Regions from separate parts of the Homo sapiens genome. Here regions 1 and 2 are each linked to region 3. The links are contacts of gene promoters, found by promoter capture Hi-C in human tissues and cell types (Jung and others, 2019). All regions are on one chromosome and are shown on one strand. The core of a region is centred on a gene start or on the middle of the fragment in contact, and the rest is flanking DNA. Distances in the headings are between cores, read along the strand shown.

Region 1 (2,700 bases), core at 32-2,531, 650 kb after region 3:
TATGAGAAGACTCAGTGTTTGCTTTTCTTCCCCCCACATCCAGAAAAACAAAAACAACAACAAAAAAAAAACAAAAGCAAATGCTGGGCCTGCCCGAGATTTTTCCTCACTATCCTTGCAAGAGCCCAGGAGTCCTATTTGGCTGTTTCATGACAAGCCAATTAGGTAAAGATTGTTAATCAGAGTAATGAGGGGAGAAGGGACTGGAGGAAAGGAAGGAGGACAGGAGTGTGGCAGAGGCAGCTGCAGAAGACAGAACTACCCCTCCCGCTCTGCTCTGATGTTTTATTCAGGCTGTTTGCAAATGAGCCAGTGGAAACAGCATTAACAATAAATGAGATGCATTAGACTGAGAAGGGGCTGGGAAGGGAGATTTGAGGGTCTTTCCTTGCCAGCCAGGCTCACGGGCTCCCTGTTGGGTCGACAAAGGTGAGTCCTTCTCAGGCGGCCTTACCTGCTGGCCCACCTGTACTCTGGCTTTCTGAAAAGGTTTATGTCCCATTTAGCAAATAATACCAAGAAGCTCAGAGGCTTTTCTAGCAAGTGAGAGCCAGCCTAAAAGGCCTATCCAACATACTAACACCTGATGGCAGGAAAATTTTACTCCCAGCCTCATCACTAAAGTGGTCACAATTCAAATGACCTGTTAGGTAGTTTTAGGTCCTCCACTTTATTAAAATAATGAATACTTGATTTATGCTTTATAATTAACCAAGCACTTTCCATCACAAAACATTTCTCACAATAACCCTGTCAAGGAGTGGGAGTGATCCATTTTATAAATAAACCGAGCAAGGTTACCCAGGGCCTGAAAGACCTCACTTTCAGAATTCCATTCATTTTTTCCTTTCGGACAATTTCCATGAGATCAAATGCCCCCCACCTACCAATTTACCCAGACTTGTATAGCTCCTTCTTTTCATTCAACAAAAATGTACTAAATAGCACAGGGGCTGAGCTAGGCCTCCGGAGCACAGGAAATCCCAGTGGCCAAAACATCATGTTTGATTCTATAGGCTATCAAGCTGCCAGTTTTCCTCCGATATGGATTCTGATTCTACTACAATTAGTACTTCCCAATTTAAAAATGATGGCAGTTGTCATTCATTAAGCACACACTAAGGGCTAGGCTCTGTGGTAAACAACCTACAAATGCGATTTCATTTAAAGCTTTGAGTCTATGTCCCTTAACCCCAGACAGAGCTCATGGTCAGAAACCATATGCTGCCAACACAACACTTTTTCCTTTTTTTTTTTTTTTTTGAGATGGAGTTTTGCTCTTGTTGCCTGGGCTGGAGTGTAGTGGCGCGATCTCGGCTCACTGCAACCTCCACCTCCTGGATTCTCTTGCCTCAGCCTCCCTAATAGCTGGGATTACATGTGCCCGCCATCAGGCCCGGCTAATTTCTTTTGTATTTTTAGTAGAGACAGGGTTTCACCATGTTGGCCAGGCTTGGTCTTGAACTCCCGACCTCAGGTGACCCACCCACCTCAGCCTCCCAAAGTGCTGGGATGACGGGTGTGAGCCACTGTGCCTGGTAAACACTTTTTATAATAAAGGGAGCAAGCTTTCCTTTTCCCCATTGAATCCCACCCTTTCACAACCTCAGTGAAACTACTCCCGGTAGTGAGACACGTTCCAGTTGTCTGACTTGGCAGCATGATTCCTCCAGGGTAGCTCTTCCACTGTATTTCTGCTTCACACCCATCAGCATCATGGGCAAGGGTCTCTCCAGCAAAGGGTGGTTAAAGAAGGCCAAGTTTCATTTCGTAGCTTAGACAAAACAAACCTCTGGCACATAAACATTGGATTCCTGTTGGTCAGGCCAACGAGACCCAGGAAGACTTAGAGTGATATTCCCTGGCACCCATGTCTCTCAAAGGTCTCCCCTAATATCCCCAATATACCAGGAAGGCATAAAGGAAGGAAAAGATGTCTATCAGAGAGAAGCAGAGCTCCAGAAGACAATTGTTTACCTTGCGTTGCTTTTCAGCGTAGGGACCTCAGTGCGGCAGCAGCATCCTCATCACCAGGGAGCTGGTTAATAAAGCGGAAACTCCAGCTGCACTCCAACCTCCTCCATCAGAGCCTGTGCGCTAACATTTTCAGGGGAGTGGAATACACGTTGGAGTTTGAGAGGCACTGAGTTAGAACACGTGGGGAGAGACTACAGTGTAGTGCTGTGGTTCTCAAGGTATGGGGCCCCAGAGACCAGCAGCATCGGCATTACCTACTTTGAAAACACAAATTTTTGAGCCCCACCCCAGGCCAATTGAATCAGAAGCTCTAGGGGTGGGCCCTCACCATCTGTGTTTAACAAGCCCTCCAGGTGATCCTGATGCATGCTAAAGTATGAAAAGCCCTGGTATAGACAATCAGTTTTCCAAGCCCTGGCTCCCCTACTTCTGACTCATCCCTTAGGCTGCACTCTTGGCTGACATTTGGGGGAATGGAAGGAAGGCCTTGTATACTTGGTTTTCCCCCTTCCATTTGATTTCCCTGGGGACGGTTCTTAAAACTCAAGCTTCTGAACAAAAAGTCTGTCTTGCTTGTGATTTAATCCTTCATTTGCATTGCCAACAACTAATGGGAAGAAAGAAGTTCCAGGAGACCAACTGGCTTTTTAGTACTGCATTGTATATGATCAGAAGCAGGCCTGGGAATGGAAGACTCAGGTTTCCCAGCCCAAGAATAAACAA
Region 2 (2,700 bases), core at 135-2,634, 560 kb after region 3:
GAAATTTGATGATATTGAAGAATTTTTTAAATATATTGTGCTTATATTAAAATAAAGTCTTTATCTTTTAGAAACACATATTGAAGTACATTCCTATGGAATGATATGCTTTCTGGGATTAGTGCATTCCAAGAACACTGTTCACTCTTACCGACACTATGTCATCACCATCTCCTTTTCATTTTCATTATCATCACAGTCATCATTCTCTGCTATTTCTCAGTGTTATCATACGCATGTAAATGAGCTCAGCATCACACAACAAAAACAGGCATTTCTGGGGAGAAAACGATCTGAGAATCACAGTGAAACAGCAGCTGAATTAAATTAGAAGTGGAGTTATGTGAAAGCAAACATGAAATTTGGGGCAGGGTGACAGAAGACATACCTATATTCTTGGAGGGGGTGAGTACATTTAATCTTGGGTCACTGTATTTTGAGAAGAAGGTGCAGCACCTGAAATGATCCTGAGAGGAAACATGGAAAATAGAGGAATGGCTTCTAGCCTTAAGCTTACAAGGGTATTTTCTCCTGGAGAAAGAGGAGACCCTATTAGGAAGGCTGGTAAACAAGAGCAGGAAAGTGAAGTGGGGAAATCTAAATTCAGTTTCTAGCCATAGCCAGTGCCTCTCTATCAGCTCAGAAGATTAAAGAGGAAGAAATGGGCCTCATTAAGAGAGAGTTCAATTAGGAGAAAACTGTGCCCGTGATCACAAGGCAGAACAGGCTCTCAAAAGAAGTAATTGAGCCTCCATTGGCTCATATCTTTGAAAACAGAAAAATTCCCAATTTCTCCTACATGAACTGGTGCACTTGGGAACATTTGGCTGGACCAGGAGATTTCCAACTTTAACTCCCATCACTCCTAATATTGTCTCTTGCCTAGAGCTTACATATCATCCCAAGGGAGACTTTCAGCCTCCTTCCTCTTCTCCCACAGGAGTGCACCTGGAGTTATTTTTATAGGAGCAGGTGTGATTTAGCAGCTACTTGCTGGGTTCACAGATGATCAGCCCAAATCTGAGGCTGCTGGCTGCTGGGGTCTGGCCCTGGAACACAGCAATTGGCTCACTGAGTCTGGGGGTCATATCATGGTTCTTCCATCATTTAAACCATTATGGACAATTCCACTTTTTACTATCTGAGTGCCACTAAACCCTGGGTTATGCAAGGCAGGTCCCATTGCCTCTCTCCCCACCCACTTTTTATAATGAATTTTGGATTGGAAATGCCCCTATAAATCTCTGAGTCCGACACTTTCGTTTTGCAGATAAGCAAACTGAGGCTTAGGGAACTGACCTGCCTGAGGCCACACACTGGTAGGTTCCTGCTGCTACCCAGGCCACTGTTTCAATAGCCAAAGAACAGAAGATTAACTCTTAGGAAGAGTGGAGATCAGCTCAACTTCAACCAAAGGCAAAAGATGAATGAGTTTTGGAGAGCTTCAGGGTTCATATGTTTTTCCATAAGTCTGCTGGGCTAAAAAGGAATGGAATGGCCCTATTGGAGTGAAAAACAGAGTTCCAAAATTCTGGGAAAGCCACACCGGGCAATTTTCTTCTTCCCCATTACAGAGATGGACTAAACTGGCAAAGGGGTAGGAATTACGTCCACCTCACACCTGCCTCATTAATTATTTCACTTGACGTTCATGTAGAAAGAACTACTAAGTGCTGGTCACTGTGCTCGGTGCTGCAGTAAACCCAAAGATACATAAGTCCCTACCCCAAGCAGCTTACAGGCAGGTGGGACCTATTGCTAGGTGATGCAAGCATGTAGACACCCAGGAAACCAGGCCATCAAGCAGTCCCAGCCTCATCCCTCGGACAACTGGCAAGATTGAGGCAGTGAAGTACAACCATTTCTGGAGCATGGATGTTACATTTTTTTTCTGCTAGTTTCATTAGCTTTATTTTCTCCCCCTTCTCAGAATCTTAAGGCTGAAATGAGTCTTAGAGATCATCTAGCCCAACTGTCTTCATTATGTGGATGAATAAGCTGAAGGCAGGTAGTGGAGGGTGCTAAGTGAATTCCCTATATCAGCATGAGTCTGGGCTGAAAACACTCCCCATGATGAGCCCCAGCCTCCCTGCACACCGAACATGAGCTAGGCTGTTTCTTTCCTAGTCCTTTTTTTCTGGATCAATGTAATGAGCCAAGACCAAAGCAAAGCTGGTTTTTAAGCAGAAACCTGCTAAATGTGGACACACTGAATTATTCATATTTGGGGTCATTAATAATGTATTGGGTGTTAATATCGAATTTATAAATGTGTCCATAACCATAGAGGTGATTAGTCACTGTTATGTGCTGCTCAGAGGTAACAGATTACCTGGCCCAAGTGTCCTTGACTAGCTCCTGTGCTTGGAGACGGCTCCCCTGCAGAGCACTGTGACCTTCCTGTCTCTATTAGCCTGATGTGAAAGAGCAGATGTCTGGGCTAAAAAATAACACTACAGAGCCCCGGTGTACTTCCAGCCACTAGCCCATGACACTGGCTGCTTTATTAAGTACTCAGCAGAGTTGCATGAACCCTCCAATATGCCTCCCATGTGGCAAGACAGAGCGACTGCTTGACAGTAAGGCTGCATGTCTGGGGATAGTGCCCCTGGGTGCTCAGGCCCCTTCACTCCTCTCTGCCTCACAGTTTTAGAGAAGCTACCTAGATGGCCTCATTTCATGTTGGCAATTCATAGCAAC
Region 3 (2,700 bases), core at 167-2,666:
AAAAACGACTGTAAAGTACAGCACTTCATAGAGTGCTTTTTGTTTAAAGAGCTGACAATAAATACGAGTCTCAAGGTCTAGGAAAGCCTCCCTCACAACCTGAGCTGCTTGAGGACAAGGGATTTTCTTTTGAATCAGCAGTACCTTATTTGTGTATCTGTGATAGAGTTCCTGGTACATAAGAAGGTCTCAATAAATATGTGAATTTATGAATATTAGGCAGATTGCAACCTTGACAGGCCACTGCCTCTTAAATCTCCTTTCTGTGATCTTTTAATATTTAACATCTAAAAGGCCGCCGCTACTTGCTTTGGGATAAGTATCCCCGGTATGTACTTTAAAATGCCCAAGCCTAGAGAAATGATTCTTGTCTTAAGGGCACCATTTCGCTCTCCCACCGTAAAGCGCCCCAGGCTTGGGATCTGGGTCCCAAGGCTACAGGGAAGAGTTTGGAACGGGAAGCTCATCTTCCGGCCCTCTGATTGGCCGGCTCGCACTCCACTCACGCGGCGCGCAGCTCTGATTGGCCTCGGCGGCACCCCTCGTCCCGCGACTACTTTGTGTGCTGGGGCGGCGCGCTCCGGTCCTCCCGCTCAGCTGGCGGTCTGGGCTGCTCTGGGGCAGCCCTTCGGTCCACTGCTCTGCATCGCGGGCGCCGGGAATTTTCCGAGTCCGAGCGGGTAGGACGCATCCTAGGGCAAAGCCTCTCCCCTCTCCCCGTGCTGTTCTCTTTCCCGTACTAAATAAACTTCCGCCTCAGAGGGGCTGTCGCAGCCGCGGGTCGGGAGAGGCCGGGCATCGAACTCAGGCCCTCGTGGGGGGGGTCTTTCTCTTCGAGTGAATGTGGAAACAGCTCTTACAAGATAAAGTAGGGCTTCGCTGAGTCTCCTGGGGGAGCGATGCCATTGTAGGATCGCGCTGGAAGCAGCAGTCAAGCGGCCAAATGCGGGCTGCAGGGGCTGAGCAGCAGCAGCGCGCACCCCTAAAAGTAGCAAGGAGCCAGCTTCAAAACCTCTAGTGCGGGTGCCCCCTAGGGCCGCCGACTGAGCTGGCACGGGCCGGTCCATTCCCGGCGCTGTAGGGAGCACAGCATTCTCTGGAGGCGAGTCTCCTCCCGGGATCCAGGATCCGCTCGCGCCCCGCTCAGCCTCCGGCCTTCAGGCGGTAGAGGGCGGCCTACGCCTGTGTGCGAGCCGGAGCCGGCGTGCGCAGCCGCTGCCCTGCTGGAACTGTGCCGTCCCGCTGTGGCCCGCGGCTCTGCTAGGCGGTGGATGCTGCTGCTACGCTCTCCACCGGCGCAGCGAGGAAGGGGGCGGGGAGAATCCCTGGCACATGCCAGGGTCGCCGTAGGTGGCAGCGGCCGGCGCATGCGCGCCCTCTCCCAGAAGCCAGGAACGCCGAGGGGCGCGCTCCCCCATTCGCGCGCGCACGCCGGCGCTGGCCGAGGCTTCCCCGCCTGCGCTCGTTGTCAGAGCCGCTCCGGCGCGTGCGCGCGTTATCTCCGGCCGACCCGAGCAGCCGGTTCCCTCCTCTCCAGGCCCCCTCCCCATCCCACCCCCGCCGCCTGGCCCCAGCCGACCCGTCCCTTCGTCTCCCCGCGGAATGGGGCCGGCACTGCTCAGGGTCGCGCGCCCTGGACCCAGCTCGCTCTCGGTCTCGCGCTGTCAGCGACTGCCCGGCTCGCGCCGCCTCGCGCTCTGCCTCAGTCAGTGGCGCCGAAGGCTCCGTTAAGCGGCGGCGGCGGTTCCTGTTTCCGTTTCTTCCTCTCCGTTCGGTCGGGAGTAGCATCCTCCACTCAGCCACCCTTCCCACTCCCCCATCGTGGGGCAGCTGCGGCTGAGGGCTGTGGCTTTGGCAGCTGCGACGGGGAGCGGCGGAGACCGCCTCTGCTCCCGCCTGGGGTAAGGGGGCGTTTTGGGAGCCGGGCCCCGCGCGCCTCGGGGTCTTGGGCTGGGCTGCGCGCGGGATCTGAGGAGGCTCCGCGGCTGTCCCTGCTCGTTCACCCGGGCCTGTTGCTGCAACTGCTGCCGGTTAACCAGCGGCTCTCGGAAAAGTGGGGAGGGAGCCCCCGGGACGCTCTGGCGGATGCCTTGGCGCAGCCCCGGGGGCGCGGGCAGAGGGTGAGGGGCGCCCGCCTCTCCAGCCGGGACGCGGAGCTGCGCCGCTGCTGCCCTCGGCGTCGCGCATCCTTGCCTAGGGCAGGGGCCAAAGCCTAGGGAAGGAGAAGGGTTGGGGGCGGGGGTGGGAGGTGTCCGTCGTTTCCCCTCCACACCTACCTTCCCTTCGTCAGCAGCTCGGTCCCTGGAGTCGCGGTTTGTGGGGAGGAAGATGCCCGTGCGTTATGGGCTCTTTCTGAGTGCTGCTCGGGCTAGAAAGCAGGGAGTGGACCCTCACAAAGATCCGCGAGGGACTGATGCAGGGCAGTTAAAGGCTTGAGTGCAGCTGTACTCCCTTTTGATGTGCAAATGACGAGCTGGCGGCTTTTGAGTATCAACTTATTTGGGAAGGTTAAATGAGTCCATATTTATCAGTTCTAGGAGGTTTGTCCTGCAGGATTGAGTGGGTTGTCGGGTGCAGCACCTGTTCTTTCTTCACAGTGGGGATTGCAATCTTCAGAGACGCAGTGTATTTCTTAAGTGGCAGTGTCATGCTTAGGGTTTGTCCCGGATGAGCTTTTATTTTAGCATTTTGCCATATAAT

Evidence for each region. The method cuts DNA at HindIII sites, captures the fragments that hold promoters and counts their contacts. A contact is called where the count stands out against the background at its distance.
Region 1: a fragment that was not itself captured here is called in contact with the fragment with the promoter of FUT8 in region 3 in 2 of the 25 tissues and cell types used here (H1 embryonic stem cells and heart left ventricle).
Region 2: a contact is called between a fragment that was not itself captured here and the fragment with the promoter of FUT8 in region 3, in 1 of the 25 tissues and cell types used here (lymphoblastoid cells).

Annotation. Positions count from the first base shown.
Region 1 is chr14:66,065,116-66,067,815 of GRCh38, forward strand. No RefSeq gene overlaps it. Among named protein-coding and RNA genes, the nearest start is that of LINC02290, 45 kb to the right of the region's middle. The HindIII fragment of the contact is 3,448 bases long and covers 1-2,700 here.
Region 2 is chr14:65,972,948-65,975,647 of GRCh38, forward strand. No RefSeq gene overlaps it. Among named protein-coding and RNA genes, the nearest start is that of LINC02290, 140 kb to the right of the region's middle. The HindIII fragment of the contact is 6,017 bases long and covers 1-2,700 here.
Region 3 is chr14:65,411,314-65,414,013 of GRCh38, forward strand. FUT8 (fucosyltransferase 8) reads left to right here and starts at 1,417. Exons shown (of 11, transcript NM_001371533.1): 1 at 1,417-1,901. It overlaps FUT8-AS1 (FUT8 antisense RNA 1), which reads right to left and starts at 1,304. Exons shown (of 1, transcript NR_024334.1): 1 at 1-1,304. RefSeq lists enhancers at 596-915, 2,158-2,700 and silencers at 1,456-1,615, 1,916-2,035, 2,046-2,235. The HindIII fragment of the contact is 6,462 bases long and covers 1-1,836 here.